7 separate regions of the Homo sapiens genome follow, and all the other regions are linked to region 2. The links are contacts of gene promoters, found by promoter capture Hi-C in blood cells and fetal thymus (Javierre and others, 2016). All regions are on one chromosome and are shown on one strand. Each heading gives the region's core, a stretch centred on a gene start or on the middle of the fragment in contact. The rest is flanking DNA. Distances are from core to core; before and after follow the strand shown.

Evidence for each region. Contacts are between HindIII fragments. The CHiCAGO score rates a contact against its expected background, and 5 or more counts as called.
Region 1: a fragment that was not itself captured here is called in contact with the fragment with the promoter of THBD in region 2 in 9 of 17 cell types (M0 macrophages, M2 macrophages, M1 macrophages and 6 more); the score reaches 25.8 in M0 macrophages.
Region 3: the fragment with the promoter of LINC01431 here is called in contact with the fragment with the promoter of THBD in region 2 in 9 of 17 cell types (monocytes, M0 macrophages, M2 macrophages and 6 more); the score reaches 35.4 in monocytes.
Region 4: a contact is called between a fragment that was not itself captured here and the fragment with the promoter of THBD in region 2, in 3 of 17 cell types (neutrophils, M0 macrophages and megakaryocytes). The highest score is 6.3, in neutrophils.
Region 5: a fragment that was not itself captured here is called in contact with the fragment with the promoter of THBD in region 2 in 8 of 17 cell types (monocytes, neutrophils, M0 macrophages and 5 more); the score reaches 13.9 in monocytes.
Region 6: a fragment that was not itself captured here is called in contact with the fragment with the promoter of THBD in region 2 in 3 of 17 cell types (megakaryocytes, neutrophils and endothelial precursors); the score reaches 6.7 in megakaryocytes.
Region 7: a fragment that was not itself captured here is called in contact with the fragment with the promoter of THBD in region 2 in 4 of 17 cell types (megakaryocytes, neutrophils, M1 macrophages and 1 more); the score reaches 10.1 in megakaryocytes.

What each region holds. Positions count from the first base shown.
Region 1 is chr20:23,340,138-23,342,837 of GRCh38, forward strand. All of the region lies in intron 1 of NXT1-AS1 (NXT1 antisense RNA 1), which reads right to left. Among named protein-coding and RNA genes, the nearest start is that of NXT1, 9.3 kb to the right of the region's middle. RefSeq lists a silencer at 487-536. The HindIII fragment of the contact is 6,381 bases long and covers 1-2,700 here.
Region 2 is chr20:23,048,335-23,051,034 of GRCh38, forward strand. THBD (thrombomodulin) reads right to left here and starts at 1,338. Exons shown (of 1, transcript NM_000361.3): 1 at 1-1,338. The coding sequence starts at 1,170. The HindIII fragment of the contact is 6,749 bases long and covers 1-2,700 here.
Region 3 is chr20:23,356,840-23,359,539 of GRCh38, forward strand. It overlaps LINC01431 (long intergenic non-protein coding RNA 1431), which reads right to left and starts at 1,288. Exons shown (of 3, transcript NR_109884.1): 1 at 1,116-1,288; 2 at 212-298; 3 at 1-130. RefSeq lists enhancers at 714-803, 994-1,383 and a silencer at 1,434-1,623. The HindIII fragment of the contact is 4,137 bases long and covers 272-2,700 here.
Region 4 is chr20:22,755,853-22,758,552 of GRCh38, forward strand. No RefSeq gene overlaps it. Among named protein-coding and RNA genes, the nearest start is that of LINC01747, 72 kb to the left of the region's middle. The HindIII fragment of the contact is 3,832 bases long and covers 1-2,700 here.
Region 5 is chr20:23,319,516-23,322,215 of GRCh38, forward strand. All of the region lies in intron 1 of NXT1-AS1 (NXT1 antisense RNA 1), which reads right to left. LOC105372571 (a long non-coding RNA gene) reads right to left here. Exons shown (of 3, transcript XR_937379.3): 3 at 1,438-1,694. Among named protein-coding and RNA genes, the nearest start is that of NXT1, 30 kb to the right of the region's middle. The HindIII fragment of the contact is 8,680 bases long and covers 1-2,700 here.
Region 6 is chr20:22,773,210-22,775,909 of GRCh38, forward strand. LOC105372567 (a long non-coding RNA gene) reads left to right here. Exons shown (of 3, transcript XR_937350.3): 2 at 323-427; 3 at 531-1,007. Among named protein-coding and RNA genes, the nearest start is that of LINC01747, 89 kb to the left of the region's middle. The HindIII fragment of the contact is 2,816 bases long and covers 33-2,700 here.
Region 7 is chr20:22,790,850-22,793,549 of GRCh38, forward strand. No RefSeq gene overlaps it. Among named protein-coding and RNA genes, the nearest start is that of LINC01747, 110 kb to the left of the region's middle. The HindIII fragment of the contact is 3,169 bases long and covers 1-2,700 here.

The sequences.
Region 1 (2,700 bases), core at 38-2,537, 290 kb after region 2:
GAATATTCCACCTGGGATGACACTCTGATGTCACGGGAGAAGGGGTAGGGTCGTGGGGAGGGGCAGGATCTTCTCGATGCCCCCACCCCTCGCTGGTCATAGGCACTGGCTGGCAAGAACGGGCTGCCTGGGGCCTTGCGCCGGCACCCTGAGCTGATCCCCCACATGCCATCGCGGTCATCCCATTGTACACTGTGCATTCATCGCCTCGGAACCATCCCGGGACAAAGTGCCAAAGTCAGCCATTAGACCAAAATGCTCACCAGGAAGCATTTTTGAGACAGTACCTCAGAATTTGAAATAGAACCACACTAAAAGCTGTGCTGCTTTGGAGAGGCAGAGACCTCTGCTTTCCCAAACCGTTTCTAAAATATCCTAGAGAAAAACAAAAAAGCCTCTCTGAGCAGCCACCTGTCAAGACAAAGGAGATTATCTTGGACTTTTTAAATGCCCTATGTTTGATATAGGGAAGGAACACTTTGGTTTCTTGATCAGAAAAGGTGTCACTCAGATCCTGTCTACAACGCAAGCAGAGCGGCTCTTGTCAAAGGCTAGACCACCCTCGTGTGGCTGCTTCTGTGAATGGCAATTCAGATTTGAAGAGCAAGACAGATCAGACAGCTTCAAAAGCGGGAAAACTGGCTGGGCGCAGTGGCTCATGCCTGTAATCCCAACATTTTGGGAGGCCGAAGCGGGCAGATCACCTGAGGTCAGGAGTTTGAGATCAGCCTGGCCAACACGGCGAAACCCCATCTCCACTAAAAATAGAAAAATTAGCTGGGCAAGGTGGCACATGCCTGTAGTCTCAGCTACTCGGGAGGCTCAGGCACAAGAATTGCTTGAACCCAGGAGGTGGAGGTTGCAGTGAGCTGAGATCACGCCACTGCACTGCAACCTGGCAACAGAGCGAGACTCCGTCTCAAAAAAAAAAAAAAAAAAAGGAAAACTAAGCTCAACAGTCAAGGCTGAACTAATTGCAGAAGAGTGTAAAATAATAATTTACTTCATTAAAAAAGCTGCAGAGCACTTTTCAACCCAGGCTACTTTTATTCTCTAGTCAAGAGCAGTTGTTTTCAAAGTGTGGTCCCGGCTTTCCAGTATGACTAGAAATTGGTTAGAAATGCAAATTCTGGCCTCCCTTGGCCCTGCTATGTCTGAAACTTTGAAGCTAAGGCTCTGGCACCCTAGTGTTAGCAAGGATTCTGACGCTCCCTCACTTTGAGAACTGTAGTTTGCATTAGATTTGTTACTGTCTGGCACCAAAAGAGAGCTGTTAGCCAAGGCATTGACCCTTCAAGGGACCAGGAAAACCCATCTAGACATTCTTCAGGTGTTTCAACAGTGAGAGAAAGTCCTTTCTTTGCTCCCTAGCTTAGACAGAGTCCCCAGCAGCAGCCCCTGAGACAACAATTGCACTGCAAGCCACTTATTTGAGAGGTGATCCCAGGGGCACCTGTTGGGGTATGGGGATGTGAGGTAGGGCAGGGGGAAGCCAGTACAGGGGCAGCACTGCAGGTGCCTGGCTCAGTCCCTGGGGAGCTCCGGGATGATGCGGGGTGTGCCTCAGAGATGTCCTGCCTGAGGGACTGGAAGGGTTGGAACCCTCCAATTCCCATCTGTCCTTACTGAAGGATGCTCTTGGGTGTTAACTCTGGGCATTCCTGCCCTGCCATGAGTAAGGTCCAAGACTGTGGCCAGAAAACCCTGGTCTGGAAAGGAGTGAAGAGGGTATCTCACTGTCTGCTCCACTCAGCTTTCCCAGGCTGCAGGGGGAGACAAAAAGTGCTTGCCGCTCACTTCTGAGCTCTCAAGACTCTTTGATTCCTTATTCAAAGCCCACTCATCAATCAAGGCCTCTCTCAAGTCCCATCTTTGCCAAGCACCTCAGCATCTCCCACTTGGGAGCAGCCTCTCTCCGCACACAGACCAGCCCTCAGATCCATGCATCACTAAAACGTCTCTGCTGATGCTGGGCAAACCAGGGCCTCGCCCTGGGCCCACACGGCCTGGCCGAACACTGGGGAGAGAGCGAGAAATGAATGCCACAAAAGGGGCACAGGAATGTTCAGAGGGGGGAACACCACAGACCTTTCCACAAAGTGGGATGGCTGTAAAGAGAAGGTGGCATCTGAGCCAGTCCCTGAAGGATAGCGGAAATGTGTGCAGAAATGGGGGCAAGGTACACAAGGCAGAGAGGGCAGCCTAAGGACTGCGGCAAGCAGCATGGATTCCGCGTGGCCGAAACATGGCACGGGGGAGAATGGTGGGAACCCAGCTCATGTCTTATTATGGAGGGCCTCGGGTCTGGGACCCTAGTCTAGGATATGGGGAGCTCACAAGTAGGGATACTGCAGAGTGAGAGTTGTGCCCCAGGCAAGTCCCTTTGAGGAGCATGTGTGTTTCAGGACCAGAAAAGTCAGTGACCCGTTAAGAGAGGAAGAGAAGATGGGAGTGGAGTTGGGGTAATTGTGCCACAAGAGCTGCACCCACTACTCAGGCATTCTTCAGGTATCCACATGCCAACATCAGGGAGCAGGTACCCTGATTTTACAGGCTCAGAGGGTTAGATCATTCACAGGAGGTCACGCAGGTCTATCTGACTCCAAGTTCGCATGCTCTTTCTGCTCTATCCACCAGGATTGTTCAAATGGCCCCAGAGAAAGACAGCTGAGCCCAAACTCCAGACCCACAGTAGGAGCT
Region 2 (2,700 bases), core at 88-2,587:
GCAGACGCAGAGGTAGCTAGTTTGGTTCAGGGGCTGGCACTGGTACTCGCAGTTGGCTCTGAAGCACGGGTCCACGGGCTCCACACACTCGCCGTCCACCAGGTCGTAGTTAGGGTAGCAGTGGCACTCGAAGCCACCCTGTGTGTTGACACAGCGCTGCGGACACGGACTGGGCTCCAGTATGCAGTCATCCACGTCCTCGCACCGGTGTTGGTCGGCCGCCAGCCGGTAGCCGGTCTCGCACATGCACGAGTAGGAGCCCGGCTGGTCGGGGTTGGGAACGCAGAAGTGCTCGCAGAGGTCGTTGCAGGACTGCGTCGCGGATGCGGTGCAGGAGCGCCCGTCTGCCTGCAGGGCGGCGCCGGCTGGGCACTGGCAGCGGGGAGCCCCAGGGATCGCATTGCACGCGTGCTCGCAGCCGCCGTTCTCCACGCTGCAGTCCCAAGCGCCCGGCGCCTCCCTGGCCCAGTGCCCCTGGACCGCTCCGGGCGGCGCGGTGCACATTAGCTGTAAGCCGAGGGGAGCCACCGCGGCGGAGCTGCCCACCGGCAGCGCCTGGAAGTCCGCTCCGCGGGCCGCGAACGGGGTGCCGTAGGTGATCGAGACGGCGGCAGCCGCGGCGCCGGGCTCCACAGCCAGTGGCCTGCAGGTGGCTGGGAAGTGGAACTCGCAGAGGAAGCCATCGGCCTTCACTTCGCACTGCTGCTCCTCCCAGATCGGCTCGCTGGGCACAGTGGCCTCAGCAGCGGAGACAGCGACGCACAACGGGCCGCAGAGGGGAGCCCCATTGAGGTCGAGCCGTGCCCACCTGCTATAGCTGGTGTTGTTGTCTCCCGTAACCCACTGGAAGCCGCGCAGGGGCCCGAGGCGCTTGGGGTCGCCGCAGCCGGGTGGCAGCTGCAGGCCGATCCAGAGGCGCCGGCGGCCAACGCCGCCGTCGCCGTTCAGTAGCAAGGAAATGACATCGGCAGCCACCGAGGAGCGCACTGTCATTAGGTGGCCCCGCAGTCCGTCGCAGATCTGACTGGCATTGAGGAAGGTCGCGGGGCCCGGGTAGAGCGCGAAGCAGTCGTGCTCGACGCACTGGCTGCCACCCGGCTGCGGCTCTGCGGGTGCGGGGAACCCCAGGCCGGCCAGGGCCAGCGCGCCAAGGACCAGGACCCCAAGCATGTTACCCAGGCGCGCCGCGTGCAGGCGCCGGGGAAAGCGCGGGCACTGCGACAGGGCCGTGCCGGAGCAGAGGGGCACAGGACGCCGATGGCGACAGCCTCTCCTGTCCGTCCCAGCCCAGACACTTCTTGCCGCTGCGCGCAGCCCCTGCGAGGCAGCCTCTGACATGCGGATCGGCCAGGGCTCGAGTTTATAAGTGCCCGGCCCTCCCTCCCTGGACGTTCGGGAAAAGGAAGGAAGTGCCTGGTGGGAAGGGCTGATGCCGCATACTCGGATTGCTGGGTTCTCTGGCCGCCCTTGCGCCCGCCCTCGCGCATGGGATCACCTCGCCGGGATGAGTAAACCCTGCCCTGGCGCAGGGAGGTTCTCGGGCGGGGCCGACAGGGGCAGGCGCCAGGGAAGGCCAGCACCCCTGTAACAAGACGACTGTCCCCGCCCACCACTCGGGCCCCCACGCGTGCAGCCCTCTTTCATCTCTTGGTCCTCCTTTCTTTCTTTTCATACATGTTACAGCCACTTCCAAGGAAAGCCTGGATTGCAAGAGCTCTGGGAACCGGAGACTTCAGAGAAGAGGGCTTTGAATGGGGAGTGGGGGAGGTGGTGCACAGGACCTGCAAGACGCTGGGAGGGGTGATCGGCACCAAGGGCACTTTGGGAGGACCTGCCTAGGACGTGGACTTCCCCGAAGACAGGATCGCAAGGAGAGACAGCTGGATCCTGTCCGCGGCCAAGGTGCCTGGCTCAGGAAACCAGCGGAGCGCGCTTGGCCTCACAGGACAGTGGGTGTGGCTGGGGTGACGGGGCAGGGTGGGGAAGACTGGCCTAACACCAGCGCCCTCTGCCCCATGGCTGGCCAGGGACCCGCGAGTCCCTGGACACGCACTGGCCAACGCCAGACCCCATCTCATCGGGTGGGGAAGTCGCGGGGACACTGTCAGGGCGCCGAAGTCCGGACCCGGCTCAGAGGCGGTGGCAGGTGAATTGCTGCGGCGCCGGGTAGGGGCGGGCGCGTGGGAGCGAGTCAGCCTGGCCAGTTTCGGCCCAGCTTCCGAAGGATGGTGCTTCTTGCACCCCAACAGAGTGGCTGGCAACCCCCCAGGGGAGCGCGCAGGATCCCAGCTGATCCCACCCGGGTCGGCTAAGGAGGTTTCCATTTCGTCCAGAGTCCGAATTGATACCCACGTGCATAGAAACGCCACTTGCTCGGCAAAGGGCACTGAAGAGCCACCGTCCTGTGGATGGGCAGGGTGGGGGGGGGGCTGGAGGAGGACATGGGAATCCGTCACTTTCGACCTCTTCCGGTGGTTCACTTACCGGGAATGCGGAAGAGTGGGTCTCCCCCTCGGGTCGCCCCCATAATGGTGAGAGGCAAACTGTTTAAAAACACCCTTGCCTCTCTCCTCTACTGTCCTCACAACGAGCGCCAGGGGGCGGCGCTGTCGAGCTCTAAACAAAGCCAAGGAAGTTGGAGAAGTTTCGGGCTAAAAAGGGTTAAGGTGTAGGAGCACAGAGTCCTCCTTCTGGGGTTGG
Region 3 (2,700 bases), core at 38-2,537, 310 kb after region 2:
GGTTTAGGTTTGATGAAAGGCCACTCCAGTGGGGTAGGAGGTGGGCAGGGAGAACAGGGGCTAGGGTGGGAGGGGCAGGAGTTGGGTCCTGGGGGTGGAGGAGATGACGGGGAGAGTGGCTTGGAGAAATCTGCAAGAAGAGACATTGGAAGGCCGGGGGAGGTGAAATGGACACTGGGTGAAGCTGAGGAGTCCTAGTGAACCATGTTACCTCTGATCCAGATATTCCCAGAACAACAAGAAATCAAGCTTCTGAATGTGGTCTGTTGCAAGCTTGGAAGGTGCACACCTGTTGCTGCTAATTTGGACAATTTGGGGGAAGAGCAGAGATTTAGATGTTGCTTTGGTCGACCTTAAACACCAGCCCTGTCTCCCCTACCACTTTGCCAAATTAGGGCCCCGTCTCTCTAAAGAGCAAACAGAAAACTGCAGAAAGTTGCTTTGTCCTGTAGACAAGAGGCTGGGACTAGGTAAGAGGAGGGAGCCAGGATGCAAAACTTAAGACCAGCCTGGCCAACAAGGCGAAACCCCGTTTCTACTAAAAATAGAAAAATTAGCTGGGCGTGGTGGCAGGCGCCTGTAATCCCAGCTACTCAGGAAGCTGAGGCAGGACAATCGCTTGAACCCAGGAGGCGGAGGTTGTAGTCAGCCAAGATCGCGCCACTGCATTCCAGTCTGGGCGACAGAGCGAGACTCCGTAACAAAAAACAAACAAACAAACAAAAAATCTTAAACATCACCAACGAGCCTTGTGAGAAATGGTTTAACGTTGTGATACCTTGCCCAATTTTAAGGCAGGTAAAGGTGTGTGTTAAAACTCAACTCTTGAACTGAACCCCAGCTGCCCTTTAGGGCATGCTTAATTTGATGTGGACTGTAACCTCTTTTGCAGCATTGTAGAGATTTGGAATCTGCACATTAGGAAGAGACCCCACGAGGCGGTGGCGTTCTTTCTCGTTCGGAGCTCACACCCCTCCTGGGGAGCCCTCTCCCAACCCGGGCTCCCGGTAAGCGCGGTCGCCGCTCCTCTGAGGGCTGCTCTTCCCTCGCTTCTGAGCCGAGGCCCCCGCGACACGAACGCCACGCCCGAAGCGCTCTTGCCAGGACGTACTGACCGAGGGTAGGCTGCCCAGCCGGGTGGTAACGTTGAGGAAAGGACAGCAGCTTCGCAAAGGAGCTGGGTAAAACCACGCCCAGACCCCGCTGGCCACCAGCCCGAGACCAAGACGCAGGCGGTGGCGCCGGTTTCTCACTCAACCGCAGGTTCCAGCATCCCCGATACGGCCGACGTCATTACCCTGCGACCGCTCAGGACACTTCTGAGGACTCTTTTGACAGCTAGTAATCGCGCGGTGGCGCGACCACGTGACTCCGGCGCCCTAGCCCCGCCCTCCGTCTCCAAGGAGCCCTGGAAGGAGCTATACCAGCGGCTCCAGAAGGCGGGGAGAGGCGGGGCCGGACTCCGGGACAGCCAATGGGCGAGGAGTGCCGCCCAGCCTGACCCACCGGCCGCTCCCTCACGAGCCTGTGGGCGTGCGCCGGCTGTGCAGGTGAGGGGCAGCGAGGGCGCCTAGTGGGCAGGGCGCCGGCGTTGCGCGTGCGTCAGTGTTCTTCCTTGTGCAGTTTAGAATTTGATACATTTCTTTCCAGTCTATTTCTATAGATTTGTTTTCAAATCACATCAGACCCTATGTAAAATAGTGTACCGTCTTTACTCATTATAACATGGTGAGCATTTCCCCAAGCTATTACACATATTTTTAAACATTGTTTTAATGACCGGCATAATAATCCAGTGCTTGGATATATCAAATTCTTCGGCCATCTCCTTATAGGTGAGATTGTTTCCAAAGTTTCACTAATGTAAGTGCACTGCAGTGAACGCCCTTACGTAACAATTGTTCACTCCCGTGTACTTTTCTCGTGCAGAGTTCTACAGCATGAAACACTATATTTAACTTTGTCAGGTTGATGTTTATCAGTGGTTTATTATTGTTTTTATAGTATTCCATTGTCAGTGAAGTATGCCATTCACACTGTCAAGTGAATTGTCTATTTGTATTATTTAAAAAAAAGATCACAAACATAGAAAGGAGAGCTTTATTTCTTTAAACGGTGATAACCTGCAAGGTGGCCCTTCTGACAGGCTGGGAAGCATAGCTTCTGGCAGAAGCTCAAAAGGCAGGCAGCTGGAGGGAAGGGGGCCTAAGACAGGAATTTAAGCTGAAGGACTTAGCCAAGTACACATATGAACAGGCCACAGGAAGAGCTATGAATATTCATGAAACGGGTCCTGACCCATGCTTACTGGACAAACGTGCATGTTACAGGTGACCTATGTTTACTTTGGGGTGGACTCTTAGCATTTACAGGTATTCATGTATTACATTTAGACCCTATAAGTTGAAAGATCTTTTCAGGACACCGATGCACTTGTGTGCAGCCTCTGTAAACCGCCAGAATCAGCCCCTGTTCGGTTGTTTCCCATCAGGAAAAAGTTACTGCAGTCAGTCTCTGGTCCAATCAAAGCAGTAATTATTTGTGGAAGTGGTGGGGCTGGGGCAGGGGGCGTGTCAGTCAGCATGTGGAGGTGGATGAAAAGCACATTGTTTGAATATTGCTTATCTAGAGGCCAGTGCTTGTTTGGCTGCCAGAGAATAAAAACCTTGTGGCAGTTAAGGCATAGTTTCTTCTTGAAGT
Region 4 (2,700 bases), core at 43-2,542, 290 kb before region 2:
GAAGGGCAGCGAGGGAAGGAAGAGGGACAGGAAGGAGCTGAACAGGAGCAGGTTCGAGCTGCAGTCTGGCTTTACCCTGATCCCTGGGGGAGCTTTGGAACAAACTGCACCACAGTCTCACCTTGCGAGGGGCTGGCCTTTGTACCCTGAGCCAGTCACTGTTTATTGGGGGTGGGTGGATGGGCTGTAATCTCCTAAGATGCTTCCATGATCCAATGACAATTTTCCAAAATGGGGGTAGCTCGAAGCTGAGACAGCTGACTTCCCTGGCAGCTGAAGGCTGTGCACACTGGCCAATAAGGGATCTGAGTGGGGTCTGACCAGTATCAGAGTGATTTGCAGGTAAGGATTAAGCCAAGGGTAGTCATTAAAACTAATGACAATTGTTTTGGTGTAACTAACTTTATGTCATCTCCAAATAACCTAGTAATTTTTATTAATTGCAAAAGCTAAGAACTTCCTGAGTAAATTATCTCCTGCTCCATCCACTGTCACCAACAATATAGAAGTAGTTTTGACAGTATTTGTCTATCAACTTCCAATTTACTGACAGGAGAAGCATGATTAATTAAGACATCTGAATTCCATCATTAAAAAAATGAGGTTTCTTATTTTAAGAAGGCATTCAGGGCAAGAGGTGAGTTAAGACTATGTGTAGCATTAGCATTCTAAATTCTCCTTTTACATTATAAGTTTTGCACTTCTTTTGTGAAATTTATTCCAAAATATTTTATTCATTTTTATACTAGTATAAATGCAATTATTTTTTAAATTTGATTTTTGGATTGTCTATTGCAAGTTTCTAGAAATACAACTGAGTTTTATGTATTGATGGTGAAGCCTGTGCCCTTGCTGAATAGAATTGAATCTTGAAGCTAGTCATCTGAGTTCTTCTGGGCCTCTCTATCTGATGCCATAATGAGAGGCATAGGGAAAAGGTGTTGGAAGGCAGGGCAGTGGGAGGGGCAGGGGCTGCCTAATGACAATGTCCAAATGCTAAAAGAAAGTACGTACTCAGCTAGACATCACACTGGAGGTTACTTTTCTCATTGAAAGACCATCAGCATTAACTATGCCGCAAGGCATGCAGACAATGAGAAAAAACTCAGAGCCTGCTGGCCAGGGAAAGCAATGCTTTCAGAAAACAGAAAGCCAGATGATGGATACCAAAGTGCCCTGGAAGTGGAGATACCAGTGTCAGGGGTGGGGGTGGTGGAGAAATCCTCTCTGAGCTTATGGGAGGAAAGGAAAATCTCCCTAGAAATCACTAGTTGAGGACTCTGTCATTCGAGTAACTAACAGACAGAAAACTCACAGATAGTAACAAAAAGTGTTCAGAACTAGGGAAGTTAGTATTCAATTCACATCATTCTGGGCCACAAAAGTTTATGCCCATAGAGTAGAATAAGACTGGGTTTGAATGGAGGCAGTTCCACGGCTGCACTCGGATGGTGTTGGTTCCTTACTTGTTCCCCAGGAGTCCAGACATGATGAGAAGGACCCACAGTATTGTACTTGGTATTTTGTTGTTGTTTCAGGGAAGACAAGTGAGGCCATGCTGTGAAGACCACCTCAAGATTTCAGGGCTTCAAACAACAAAGGCTGTTTCTTGCTCACAATGTATGTCCACCACAGGTCAGCATGAGGTGGGGGGTTTCTGCCCATCATAAGGTACTCAAGGACCTAAGCTGATAGAGGTTTCATCTCTTAGAAGGACAGAGGCTTCATCTCAACAGATGTTTCTGCGGAGATAGGGAAGAGGCACAGTTAGTCATGTGCTAGTCCTTAAAGCTGCCAACCAGGAGAGACATGTGATGTTCTGCTCACATTTCAATCAGTAAAGGAAGCACGTGGTCTTCTCTAATGCAAAAAGGGCGTTCAAATTCTACCTCCCTATGTGCCCAGAAGGAAATCCAGAGTATTTGTGACTAGCTCCAATGACTATCAGTATCCACTCTCCTGCTCACTAAATATTTGATTCCATTTCTTTCTATATTTGTTTTCCAAACGAAACAACTTAGACATTCCATGGATATATTGAAGGTGACACAAGAGAACCAAGAATTCCAAAGGGGAGCAGTGGCCAGGGCAGACCTATTTTTTCTATGTCCTGGTTTTCACTTTGCTGCCATTCACAGGGACGATCAGGAACTCGGGTACCATTCACAGCCAGAGGAGCCACAGCCCGCAGCTGTCAATCACTTGTGGTTAAGGCCCTGCAGGGGTTTGGTCTCTAGAAATTCCCTGTAGTCGAGTTTTCAGTTTGAAAAATTGTGCAGAACATCTTCCAACTCTTCTTAAAGCCGCTAAACAAAATTAGCCCGGTCTCACGGTGCAAAGAGAGATGGGAAGCCCTGGAAGAAGAGCAATCCCGCCCATCTGTAAACCTCTGGAGTATATGGGTTTAAAGGGTTGAGCCCAGGGATCTGGGACCCACCCAGGCAACAGAGCCAGGTTGGCTCTGGGTGTGAACTGAGCTTCGCAGAGGGGGCTGGCTGCTCCTGCTTCTCGGTTCCCTCCACCTCTCTCTCTGCCCCTTGGGGGTCAGGATGGGTGGAGAAGGCCATGCCAAAGATTGAGAGCTCTGCCTTTCCCATCTCAAGTGGTCCTGGGCTCACTGCTCACATGCCAACGGACACCCGCCTCAGGCGAGAAGCTCTGATGACTCTGATATTGTTTTCCAGCTTTTCCAACTCACCT
Region 5 (2,700 bases), core at 93-2,592, 270 kb after region 2:
TGTTTGTTGGGTTATTGATCTATTTATGGAAACACTTGTAAATAACTAAGGACTGATGATCCTGAAAGCAAAATATAGTCTTCCTCCCACTTCTCCTGAACTTGAAGAATCTCACAGAATTCTGTATTTATACCAGCAGCATATGATATGATTTGAATCCTGTTATTTCATGAGATGTTTAAACCAGACTTTCTCAATCTCAGCATGATTAACATTCGGGGCTGGGTAATTCTTTATTGTGTGGTATTGTCCTGTGCATTGAAGTATTTTCTAAGTAATGCCCCTGACATCTACTCACTCAATGCCAGCAGCACCCCCAGTCCCAGTGTGACCAGCTGTCTCCAGACACTGTCAAATGTCCTCTGGGAGCAAAATGTCCCGCCTTGAGAACCACTGATTTAGAGCAATGACCCAGAAGAACTAAATATTTATTCAAGAAAAGAACTCTGAATTATTTTGACTCAGATCTGCAAGAACATTTTTATCTATTTTTTTTTTTTTTTGAAACAGGGTCTCACTCTATCACCCAGACTGGAGTGCAGTGGCATCATCTCTGCTCACCACAACCTCCCCACTCCCAGGCTGAAGCAATTCTCCTGCCTAAGCCTCCTGAGTAGCTGGGATTAGAGTTGCATGCCACTACCACTTGGCTAATTTTTGTATTTTTAGTAGAACGAGTTTCACCATGTTGGCCAGGCTGGTCTTGAACTCCTGACCTCAAATAATCCACCCGCCTCAGCCTCCCAAAGTGCTGGGATTACAGGCCTGAGCCACCATGCCCGGCCTGCAAGACCCTTTTTCAATAAAAATTGGCCAGCTGGAAACAAGATCCCAGACTCCACAGTGATCTGGTCCAAGCATCCTGGTTCTCCACGGTTGTTGTGTCTTCCTCCCCATAAAAGCCAGGAGCCCCTCTCACGCTGCTTATTTGTTCCGGCATTCATCTAGCTGAGCACCTGTTGCACATCAGGCATTGCTCTGAGTAATGCGGATAAAGCTGCACACAAGACGGAGGCTAGCCCAGCCTCAAAGAACTTTCCCTCTAGTGGAGAGGAAGGGGACGGCACACAAGGAAATGAATATACAACTTCAGTGGGAAGTCCACGTGAAATGGAAGAGTTCCCTGAACCTCCTCACATGACACGCAATAGGGGTGTGGCTCATCTGTTTGGCCACCTCACCTGTGCAAACCCCTTACAGGAAGGGGAGCATGCAGACAAGCAGGTGCAGGAGCCAGGGCAAGCACCTTGGGGCTCCAGCCCCATGGTAGCTTCTAGGGGTGGGTGCCTGCAACTCCCAAAGCCCAAGTAGGCATGTGTTACCATGCATTCTTTTAGCTGTGCTGCCTGCAGATAGCTTAAGTGTTAACCAGCTCAGTGCCCTCATGGTACCTAGGTCCTTGTCCGGCATCCAGGAAGAATCAGGTCACACACAGACTTGAGGATGGTGAATGCAGGGTTTTATTGAGTGGTGGAGGTGGCTCTCAGCGGGATGGATGGGGAGCTGGAAAGGGGATGGAGTGGGAAGATGATCTTCCCCTGGAGCTTGGCTGTCCTGCAGTCTATCTCCTCTCTGACCTCCCCCAGCTGAATTTCTCTTGGCGTTCAGATGGTCCCTTTCTTCTCTCTGCCATGCCATTCTGCTGTTCTTCTGTTCTTCTGCTCGTTCCCTCGTCTGCTTCTGAAGCCTAGGGTCTGGGGTTTGTACAAGTACAGGATAGGGGGGCACAGCAGGCCAAAAGGCAACTTTTGGGCTTGAAAACAGGAAGGGCTGTTCCCATTTAGGGCCACGGGTTTCCAGGCTTGAGGGTGGGATCTTTGCTGGGGAACCGCCCACTTCTCAGTATTTCCCTGTCTCCTGTCCTTATCACGTGTAGAGAAAAAAGGCACTCAGCTAGAGAGGGATGGGGAAGGTGTGAGCTGTTTTAGGTAGGAGGGTCAGGGAAGGTCTCTCAGATGAGGTGACATTTGAGCAGAAACTAGGATGAAAAGAGAAAGCCAGCCCTGTCAGCGTCCACTGCAAGAACAGCTAACCTCTAACCCTCAGCCCTGGGAAAGGCGCAAACACAGCTTGCTCTGAGAACAGCAAACAGGGCACTGGAGCTGAATTGGTGTGAACAAGGGTACAAGGGGGAGAAGATGAGGTGGGGAGATGGAAGGTGCATGCCATGCAGGGACTTGGCTTTGATTCGATTTTGGCTTATAGTCAGAGTGAGCGGGAAGCCAAAGGAGGGTTTGAGCTGGGGGGGACTGACAAGTTTCTAAAGAACCACTGTGGTTGCTATGTTGGAAATAAAAAATGAGGGGGTTGGGTAAGGGCAGGGGCAGGAAACTATATCAGAGATGTAGCTAATTAGGATCAGCTGCATGGGGCCAAAATTCCCAAATAACAATGACTTCAGTAACACAGTTGCTTCTCTCTCTAATGTAAACCAAGTATAGAGATAGGCCGATTGAGGCTGGTAATGGAGACCTTAAATTTTCTTCCAGCCTGCTTCCCCGCCATCCAACATTGCTGCCTCACAGTCCCAGAGGGTGGTTCAGTCCCAGCCAGCACGCCTGCATTCCAGCAAGCTGCTGTAAGGAAAGGTCAAAGAAGAACCCATTCTGTCCTTTTAAGTGTATTTCCTAGAAGTCGTATAGGACACTTCTGTTTATTTCCTATTGGCCAGAGCTCCAGGGGAGGCTGGCAAATGCAGGT
Region 6 (2,700 bases), core at 191-2,690, 280 kb before region 2:
AATCCTATCTTAATAAAATGTAGCTTGAGATAAGCTTCCACAATTAACATGGAAGACAAAAAAATGTTTCCTGATAATCATCCGTGAGGCTAGAACTTCTCTCTAAGAATAGAGATATGAATGTCTGCACTAGGAAAGGATGAAGGCTCTTCATTAAGAGGTGGCAAAGTCAACGTTTGAATGGTTTTAGCCTAGTCTTCTCCTTATGAGGATCAGAAAACTCAAAGCCAGCACTGAGGGAATGGTTTGATCTCCTTTCTTGAAGGAAGATTGCAGAAGGGCTTGGAAAAGTGAATGATTAACTTGACCACATTTCTCCTAGGGCCGGGAAGTGAGTGCACTCAAAGCAGGATTTCCTGGCAACTGCTCCAGTAATGTCTTACTGAGAATGGAGAAATCTGGAGGATAAGAGGAAAGAGGAAAAATGGTAAATTACAGACTGTTTCAACAGCAAAACAAAGGACTCTAGAGAAAATCGGGAAACTCCAGTCCTTTGGGGAGGGTAGAAACAATGCACTATTGTTTTCTAGAAGTCTTCATGGAAGATATTTTATCCATGGAACTGCACACTGTGGAAGCCTTGCAGAACCCGTGTCACATCTTAGGGACACACGTCCCAGCCTGCTGGAAATCTGAAGAACCCAGTATGGGGGAGAGGAAGCAGTGTGCAGACCATCTAGTGACATCCATTAATTCATGGAGGAGGGAATTGAGGTCCACAGTCTGCTTCTACACCCCAAAGGAAAAGGGGAGTGTTTTACAACTTATTTGAAATGTGAAGGACTGGCCTGGCACTTAGTGTACTCTTGGTTAATGACATGTGGATTGTTTTAATGATGCCCAAACACTCTTGTAAAGTGGAAAATATAGGCAGCCTGGGGTGCACATCAGGGTCAGCATCAGGGAATATAAGCTCATTAGTAGGTTAACACATACCTCCTTTTCCTGCTGAAAACCATGGCTGGCCTCCAACCAGAAACGCCCCTTCATACTTTTGAAGCAGGTCTTTAGTCTCCCTACACATCTTGCCTTATGTGATCACATTCCTTCCCTCCTGCAGCTGCCCTGGATTGAGAGAAATATAGGAGGCCAGGGAAGAGATTGGGTCTCTTCCCTCTGATCCTGCAGGCTGATGTCCTTCTCCTCCGAGCCACTGCCTTCCTGGGGGCTGCCTCTTGTGTCATCTAAACAGGCAGACATTTCCAGGTTTTGAACCCATCATTCATTCCAGGCCCACTGAGCACAGACTGCATACAGAACAGTGGGGCCTTGCACCTGAGGAGAAAGTGCACCTGCAATTCTGGAAACACGCTGTGGAGGCACAAAACCTCTCTGGGGGCACAAGACTAAGTGGAGGCCTCTGAGAATGGGGCATGGGAGTGAACCATAAGAAGAGAGGGAGGAGTGTGTGAACCAGAGTTCCAGGACTGAAGTCCCCAGGAAGAGCAGGTGGGAAAATCTGGAAGGGAATTTTCATTCCCTTGCGAACTAAAGAGATGGAGTAAAGAGGCCAGTAATAGATTTGGGACTGGACCACAGGGGGCCTCTGGGACCATGGTGAGGACTGGAGCTTTCATGGAGCAGAGGGAGGCCGGTGAGGGTTTATGCAGAGGGGAGGCTTAACTTAGCTTACACCCAGTCTGAAAAGTTCATTTCGGTTGTTGTATATAGAACAATGGAGAGGGGAGTGGGCACAGGGAGGCTAATTAGGGAGCAGCTTCAGTAGCAGGAGGTGGTGCTGGGTTGCTCTAGGATGGAGACATCAGCAGAAGGGACCCGGGCCTGTGTGAGACACCTGTTGAAGGAAGGATCCACCGGGCTTGCTGCTGGACTTATGTGGGGCTGAGGGAGAAGGGGGACCTGCCAGCCCAGCTTGGGGTGGGAGCAACTGGGTAAATATGGTAAACAGGAAACATCAAGAAATAAGATACTGGGTTGGGGAAAGTTACGGTGAGCTCAGCTTTGTACTTGAATTTTAAGTGTCCAGAAGACAAGCAGTAGGGTTTGCTACTTGACTTCAGTGCACTGAAACTTGTTTGCTTTGCACACAAAAGTGGAGGCATTGATACCTCTCCCACAGGGCCATTTTGGATTGAGGAGCTAATCTGCACCAAGTTTTCAGAAGTGGTAAGCAGTATGGCAGTGTGAGATAGAATATCCATTGGAAGAGGAATGTATCAGTTAGCAGGCAGAAATGCTGCTTCCCAAAGAGCAGGGTCAGTGGGGTCATTGTGGAAAGCGGCTGCTAGCTTGAGCAAGCAGCCCACACTCCCCAACAACACATGCATTCCACACTCAATTCTGCATGTGTGTCTATGTGTGTCTGCATTACTGTGAGAGTGTCACATGTGTGTGTGTGTGTGCCTGTGTGTTTGTGTATTTGTGTGCATGCTTATGTGTTCAATTCATAGGAGCTATGAAGAAATAAGAAACAAATGGGAGGGAAGTTTCTAAAATGAAAGCTAAAGAGATAATCCCAGGCTTTGGTGAACATGTTTGAAATTCTTTGCTCTTCTGACCCACGTCAGCAGGGTGACTGGGCAGGAGAAGGTAATACTTCAAAGAGGAAGAGTTTCCTTGTGGACATCCAAGAAACACTGACCAAAGCACTATGGGAATAAAGGAAAATGATAAATGGATAGAAAGTCCTGAAAGGCACACAGAGATGTAGAGATGTGCACTTTTCCAAGTGGAGAGGAA
Region 7 (2,700 bases), core at 125-2,624, 260 kb before region 2:
CTAATAGTGGAATTACTGGGTTGATGTGGACTCAACTGTAGAAGAAACCAAATGAGTTGCTTTTGAAAATTATCATTTCTGGTAGACTCATAGCCTCTCATAGCTGAACGAAAATTTTGCTCCTTGGCCATTTGGTCCAACCTCGTCATTTAAGATAAGGACAACTGAGATGCCAAGGAGTCATCACTCTTTCATGGCTGTAGATCTAATAAGTAGCTGAGGAAGAGCTGGACCCAGCCTTTCTGACCTCATACTTCCTTACCAAGGAGCATTAGAAAACCCTACTTATTCCTGCTTGTGAGGTAAGAGTTATTTCTAAATGCAAATATTTGTTTTCTTGCTTTTATTCACATAGTGAAGAAAATTGAATCCATGGTGACCTTATTGAATCCACACAGAACCTTATTATACATTGATTCATAAGGTGTTATTGTATCATAGCTATAGACAGCTGTGGAGATTAGGGTAAGTCTACACTGTCTTGAGAACATGTCTTAGAATTTAAGTTTTCTCCAAATACGTAGTATTGATTCGGCTTTACCTTTTGCTAAGAAAATGAATGTTGGTAACTTCTCACATAGTAATAATAATTCCATTTCCAAGAACATCTCCTAAGAACATAAATATAGATGTGCAGGAGATATATGCGAGGGTCAGAAATGCTGAGGAGCAGGGCATGACTCACTGCACTAGCTCATGCCGACAGGCCAAGAAGGTGACAACAGGGCCCTGGCTGTGGATTTAGTAGCATGGATGTCATCAGCAAAAGACTAATTTGTCTCCAGTGTCTAAAACAGTGCCTGGAGCTCCAGAAGTAGGACATGATTGATTGAGTGGCAGGGGCATCTCAAGTTGACTCGAATATCCTTTGTTTGAGCATACTCAAGAGAAAATGGGAAGATAAAGTGAGATTTCTTTTAAAGGACAGCAAGGAAATGAGGTGGCACTTGTAGGGGAATATAGGGCTAAGACAGGGTTTTCTCAAGATAAGAGAAATCACCAGATGTTTGCATGATGTTGGGAGTGATCCAGTAGAAAGAAAAAAGTAAAAATATTCTACCAATAACCATAACAAATGACCAAACATATTGTTGCTAAGGCAATGATATCTTGACTGATGCAGGGAAAAAAGTAACCTCAACAGGTCAAGTCCCAAGTGTGAGCCTGTCACCAGCATGCAGTGGGAAGTACAGTTTCTGGAACTCTGAGCCTAATTCTGCCTCCAAGTTGTTGTTGGTGGTGGATGAGTCATTTTGCATTGTCATCTCCCTTTCCTTACCTGTGCAAAGAAGGGTTGAAATCAGACTCCCCCACTCGCACACCTCATGATAACTTCCTGAGGGCTGCCACAGGCCGTCAGCTTCTCTCTCTTTGTGTGCAAGCCAGACCCTTAGTAATGCAAGTCCCTCATCCTACTCTAACTGCATGAGCCAAGCTCAGATCCCCTGCAGGAAAAGAATTCAAGGCCTTCTTTGCTCAGACAGGAGACAGATTCTTGGAAGTAGTAACGTCTTACCCAACATCTTGAGGAAGTTTTCATAAAAGCCTGGGATCAACATCATATGAAACATAGCCATCAAGTTTTGAGCCCTAAAGAGAATTCAGAATAGAGTGAGGTCAAGTGAATGTCTAACTGCTGAGTGAAGGATCATGGGAGATTTCAAAGGGCTCTTGTTTTGGAGTTTTCAGGACTTTCCCCAAGAAATTTTCATGGTTGATGTGTGCTCCAGTAAGAACAGGAGAATATGAAATCCGGGGATGAGGGACAGGGGTGGGGAGTCTAAGAGGCTAATTATCCTCTGTGTAGAATGAAACCCCATGAAAAAGGAGCACTCCTGTTACACATTTTATTGTTAGTTAGCATTCTATATGTTACTAAATAATTTTGCTTTACTACTTTATTTATAGCTACATAATCTTGAACAAGTCACTTATCCTCTTTGAGAATAATTTTACCTCTAAAATGGGCATACTATGACTATTTTGCAGGATTGTAGAGTAAATGAAAATTTGAGTCTTTCAATAAACATTTATCATCCTAAGTGCTGTTTTTATTCATACAAAATGGAAATTATTAGTTGTAGTGAAACCATAAGTATTGGCTGAGAACCAGGCACAAAAGGAACCAAATGGAAGCCCCGCATTCAGGTTGAATCTAGGAAGCAATGCCGGCTGCAGGTGCAGAATTCATCAGCAGAACATGGCTCTCAGGACATCTTTGTAAAGGTCTCTTGTCTTCTGGTGTGAGGCAGGCCATGTGTTCCTCCAGGCATTAAGGTCAGAATCACTGATAACAGTTTGGATGTCTCCATCAAACCTTATTTTGAATTGTAATCCCCAGTGTTGGAGGTGGGGTCTGGTGGGAGCTAATTGGATCATGGGGGCAGATTTCTCACGGATGGTTTAACACCATCCTCTTGGTGCTGTCCTTGTGGTAGTGAGTGAGTTCTTGTGACGTCTGTTTGTTTAAAAGTGTATGGCACCTCCCCACTGGCTCTCTTGCTCCTGCTCTCACCATGTGATACATATGCTTCCACTTTGCCTTCACCATGATTGTAAGTTTCCTAAGGCCTCACCAGAAGCCAAGCAGATACTGGCACCATGCTTTCTGTACAGCCTGCCGAACGGTGTGCCAATTAAATCTCTTTTCTTTATAAATTACCAGTTTCGGATATTTCTTTACAGCAACGCAAGAACAGC